2 separate regions of the Homo sapiens genome follow, and region 2 is linked to region 1. The links are contacts of gene promoters, found by promoter capture Hi-C in blood cells and fetal thymus (Javierre and others, 2016). All regions are on one chromosome and are shown on one strand. Each heading gives the region's core, a stretch centred on a gene start or on the middle of the fragment in contact. The rest is flanking DNA. Distances are from core to core; before and after follow the strand shown. Region 1 overlaps PRKACB (protein kinase cAMP-activated catalytic subunit beta). Region 2 holds the start of SSX2IP (SSX family member 2 interacting protein).

The links. The method cuts DNA at HindIII sites, captures the fragments that hold promoters and counts their contacts. A CHiCAGO score of 5 or more calls a contact.
Region 2: a contact is called between the fragment with the promoter of SSX2IP here and a fragment that was not itself captured in region 1, in 9 of 17 cell types (megakaryocytes, erythroblasts, total CD4 T cells and 6 more). The highest score is 8.1, in megakaryocytes.

Annotation. Positions count from the first base shown.
Region 1 is chr1:84,181,111-84,183,786 of GRCh38, forward strand. PRKACB (protein kinase cAMP-activated catalytic subunit beta) reads left to right here. Exons shown (of 10, transcript NM_182948.4): 3 at 1,090-1,218. Among named protein-coding and RNA genes, the nearest start is that of PRKACB, 38 kb to the left of the region's middle. The HindIII fragment of the contact is 1,661 bases long and covers 574-2,234 here.
Region 2 is chr1:84,689,151-84,691,826 of GRCh38, forward strand. SSX2IP (SSX family member 2 interacting protein) reads right to left here and starts at 1,311. Exons shown (of 14, transcript NM_001166293.2): 1 at 1,221-1,311. RefSeq lists a silencer at 763-1,522. The HindIII fragment of the contact is 1,864 bases long and covers 1-1,783 here.

The DNA of each region.
Region 1 (2,676 bases), core at 154-2,653:
AATTGCCTGCTGTCTGTAATGATCCAACAGAAAGCTAAAATGGGTCTCAAAAGGCAAGGTTTGATTTGCAATACAGATAAAATCCAACTACAGTGAACTGTAATACCTATACAAATTCCTCACTGGACAAAGAATCATACTGCATCACATTTTTTCAAGCTAAACACTACATACTGGGCCTTCAGAATATTTTTCTGATATTTTCATGGAGTTCTTTGCAATGAAACCTATTAAACAAATGGGTCAGCAATTACTACTTCTTGCCATTTAACACATAATTTGTCCCTAATAATTTTCATTTTGTTGTGGCAGGAACAAATTTAATAGATTGATGCCTCCAATTATTTGCTTCTGTGCTGTAGTCAAAGCCAAACAAAGATGTTTCCTTATAACAAAACATCTATTCAAGAAAAAAAGAGTCTGATTATTGTTCTGGGATTCTGGCTTTTGGTTCTTTGTAGAATGAGGAACTCTTCTTTCCTTATTGTTGTTGTTTTAGATAATACTGTGTTTTTATAATATAAAGAGAGAAAGCCACTAGGCTCTCTCATGCTGCTACTATCTAGTTCTATAAGCTTATATAAAGACAGAAATGAAGCAAGACTGATTTCTTCACAGGTAACTTTAGTGAAAGAGCTCTGATCCCTCAGTTTATCTATTCATTACAGTTATTTGCAAGTGCATTAAGTCTGTATGGCTTCTATGACTCTTTGTCAGTATGCCTCTGGTCAGTTTGTAATTATTAAAATATGAAACTAATTTATTGGAAGTTCAGTAGTAAGATTAAAGTCCAATACTAGGAATGCATACTGGAATATAATCTTTAATATTTCAGCTGAGGCTCTTATTTCCTCCTATTACTATTATGCTCTGTTTTCCAATACATTCTCTCCTCAGATATTAAATACTTTCTTATTCAAAGGGAAAAATAGAACCAATAAACTGGAATCTCAATAGCTTTTTTGTATTGCATTTAAATGGATAGTTATAAATGGGATTATCCATTATGATTATGTATTATTAAAGCATTTATAATTCCCATAGTGTTTTTACGAGAATTTTAAATTTTATTTATGTATTTACATATAGAATAATGCCGGACTTGAAGATTTTGAAAGGAAAAAAACCCTTGGAACAGGTTCATTTGGAAGAGTCATGTTGGTAAAACACAAAGCCACTGAACAGTATTATGCCATGAAGATCTTAGATAAGCAGAAGGTGAGTGTATTTGTTGTTATTTACCTTCAGGGTAAACTTTAGTTTTATCAGCTAGACTATTAAACAGATTCAGTATAATGACTTACCATTGACAGCTTCAAATAATTTTATTATTAAATTTAATTTTTATTGTAACTAAATTTTTATTGTAACTATATTATACATAGTTAGTATACAGTCAGCCCTTCCATATCTATGGGTTCCACGTCCATGGATTTAACCAATCACAGATTGAAGATATTTGGGAAAAAAATTACATCTATACCTAACATGTACAGACTTTTGTTTCTTGTTATTATTCCCTAAACAATACAGTGTAACAACTATTTACATAGCATTTACAATATATCAGGTATTATAAGTAATCTAGAGATGATTTAAAGTATATGGACAGTGTGTATAGGCTTTATGCAAAGCCTCTGTCATTTTATATAAGGGACTTGAGCACCTGGGCATTTTGGTTTCTGCTGTAGGTCCTGGAACCAACCCCCAGGGATACTGATGGACAACTATAATTTATTGTGACAATTATGGACTAATTTGTTTTGTAACTATTACAGAAGTTAAAATGTGTACAGTAGTGATCCAACCACTTCATGTTACAAATTTTGAAAACCTGAGGCCCAAAGATTTGAAATCATCTCAAGTCAGAAAGTTAGTTAAATAAAAGGCCTAGATTAAAACACAAATCTGACTCCTACTCAATTTATTTGCTCAATATTATCAGTATACTCCTAATTTTATATATTAATACCTGGCTGGTATCTTTAATTACTTTTGTTATTTATATTTAACTTCTTGACTTCTGTGACTATCCTCACATTGACCATTAGACTCCAGCAAGAAAGAATGCCACCTTCTAATGATTTACACATATACAAGAAAATTATTTATATGTCTTGCTAAAGTCACCACTTCTTAAATTCAAAATAGAATCACATATGGAATAGAATCACAGTCTTCGTGAAGTCAAGATAAATTACTTTCCCCTTCTATTAAATAGAAAATCTAGAGGAAGCTTAAGTCTAAATGACCTAGGATACAAAGATAGTTTTTGTTATAAAGATAGTTTTTTCCCCAATATTTTGTGTGTCCTCTTCTATGGCAATATAAAATAAATTTTTAGAATTTATACCTATATTTATTTAGATATTATAAAATGAAAATTGTTCATTTTTACTCACTATTTTTCAGTTATGGACTTTCTCTTCATTTTTAATTTTCTTATTCATCTTCTGAAGTATTTAAAATCACTATCTACTTATTGCAGAGATTTGAGCCAGCTTTTATAGAGGACTTTAAGTCATTAGGACCTTAGTATTTTCACATTCATTTTTAAATTACCTTAAGTAATTATATATTTATTTAAGCATAATTGACATAACTAATTTTTAAAGTAATTTCTTATGAGTTTGTTTCTTATTCCTACTTAGCTCTCACTTCTTAATTGAAACCATA
Region 2 (2,676 bases), core at 61-2,560, 510 kb after region 1:
AATCTACCTCTAACTTCTAAATTTCAAAATAGCTTGACGTGAACTTTAAAGGCATTTCTTTCCTCTCCAAATTTCTAATTCTTTACAAATTTTATTCACTCTCCTAAATGAGTCAACTCATACCAACCTTTCTAGTTCAGGATCAAACTGTAGGATCACCAGAATTTTCTTCTACCCCACAGTAAGCCAAACCCCCATGAACCATGAAAAGGTCCATGACATCCATCACCCACAGCTAACTCTACACCTTGACTCTAATCTGAATTGTTAGAAAGCCCAGGAAGTTCAAGAAGCCTCCACCCTTACACTTCTAAATCACCTTCTTTTCTAATCCTCAACCTATTACAGCGTCCAGAAAAGAGAAATCTCAATTCTCTCAGATTCAAGAACTTTATCAGCGTTGCTAGTAATCGCAGTTTGGCATTTACAACTATGGGTCCTGAAACTGGGTAATAATCTAAAAATTCCTACATTATACGTGCAGACAGCAAATTAGTATATTCTATGTCCTGGGCCCAAGCGATATGCCTAACTGGGCAATCAGCATAGGCTCAAAAAATGTGCAGGGAGCTCACAATTCAGTTTACTGTCGTTGACTATAAAATTCTAAACCAAAGTATTTTCATGATAAAATTATAAACCAAAGTATTTTCACACATGCCTGCCTCTTGGATGATGTAAATTCTTCCCCTAGACTTTTTACTAGACCACTATCGGGGTTCTCTTCCACTGCAGCGGCCACCCAATAACTCGTTTTAAAGACTGCCTCTTGCGGCTGCACTAGCAAATCGCCAAACCCCGCATGCCCCACGGCCGCTGCTGAGACTCTGCAGCCCCAAATCGGCCATCCCCTCCTCCCCCACGTCCCCGCGCTGCTCGTCCCCCAACGCCGGGCGCCAACCTTGCTCCATCCCAGAGAGGGTTTGGGGCTCCCCGGGTCAGAGCGCTCCGCAGGCGCAGCTCCGCGAACGCCAGCGAGAGCGGTCCCGGGGCCAGCACCTACCTCCCACCTCCTCCTCCAGGAGCGGCCCGGGTCGACGCTCGCCCGCACCCTGCAACGGCCCCAACAGCCGCGCGGAGCCTCCCGCCGAACAACGGGGCGCTGAGCCAGGTGCCGGCTCTCACCTCCGCGCGCGCCCGCCCCTTGCCGGCGCCCACCCCCGCCCGCCCCTCCCTGGCGGGGCGCGTCACAATCCCCGACGCGAGGCGCTGCTGCTCACCGTCACGGCCCCCGGGAGCGGCGGGGAGTCACCGCTCGGCGTCCTAGCCCGGCTCCCGCAGCCCGAGGGCCAGCAGCGCCTCGCAGCGCCTCCCGCCCGCGGCCCCTCCTCCGCTGCGGGCTCCCGCCTTCCCCGCCCCTTGCAGCCGCCTCCCGGCCTCCGCAGGTTTCCGAGGTTCCCACCCCGCCCCCGCGCGCCGGCGCCGCAGGCCCCGCCGCCTCCCATTGGCTCCGCCAGTTGCTAGGCGATGAACAACCGTGGCCTGCATTGGTCGGGTGGGGGCCTCGGTAGTCTCCTCCTTACCTCCAAAAAAACCCGGAGAAAAAGAAGACCTTATCCCTGCGGTCCGCGCGCGCTGCGGGCGCAGCTGCGGCTGCGGCACCTGTTACGCCCAGTGATTCACCCGGCCGTTTTCTGCTCCCCGCCCCCTTCTGACGCCTGCAGCGTCCGGGGCCGGGGCTCTGTGGGGGCCGGGACTCTGCAGGGACCGGGGTCGTGGCTACTTTAGAGCACGTTTTCCGAGCCCCACTGAACCCCAACACCCAGCCTAGCAGCAAAAGTGAAGCTTCCAGGAGAGCCACGTGCGTTTGCCAAAGTGGAGAAATAAACTGCGGGCACCTAGAATTAGGTCAGGTCCAAGGAACGGGAGGTTCAAGCGTCGGGAGTCGTGGATGCAAACAATCCAGCCGGGAGAAAGTTATATGTAAAATTAGGGCGAAGAAATGGATCTGGGCAGAAGACCGCGGGCAAAGGAAAGACTAAGAAATAGCATTCGTGAACTCAGTTTATGCAAAAATGTCTTACACCCACTCGACAAAGTATGTGCGATGAAAATGTATGCCTGCTGCACCCGTGGCCAGGGTCAGGCTGTCTCCTCCCTGGTTTCATGGCAGCCTAAAATTCACTGGGGAAGAAAAGAAAAGAGGCCAGAGAAAGGAGATCAGATGGAGAAATCACAGGCATATAGGTTACACAAAGATGTTCTTTGATTTTTGTTTTGTTTAGTTTTGGTGAAGCCAAGGGATTTATTCAAAAGGCGAAAAACAGGTTTGGTGTTTTAAGGAGACTCCTGAGAGCACTTTGAAACCAAAACAGTATGAGTGAAGATGCTAACACTGAAAAACAAGAGCGGGAGGAATGTCCACCTCCCAGTTTGCATGCACGTATCCCCAATCCTGGATGAAAGATCAGGGCCAGAAGAAGCACGCCACGGTGACAACTTCAGGGCCCAACGAAATCCTCCTCTTTTCCTTTGGCCAAGCAATCAGAGGCCCGTCTAGCTGCTGTTGAGCCCAGGTGGCGTTACCATTAACAGTTACATTTTTAAAAGGTTTGAACCAAGCTTAGTTGAGCTCTGGGAAGTTTAGCTCTGACCTCAGCAACCCCGGGAAAGGAATAAGATCTGCCTGAATAAACCAGCGGTCTCAATCTTTTGGTCTCAAGACCGCTTTCCACT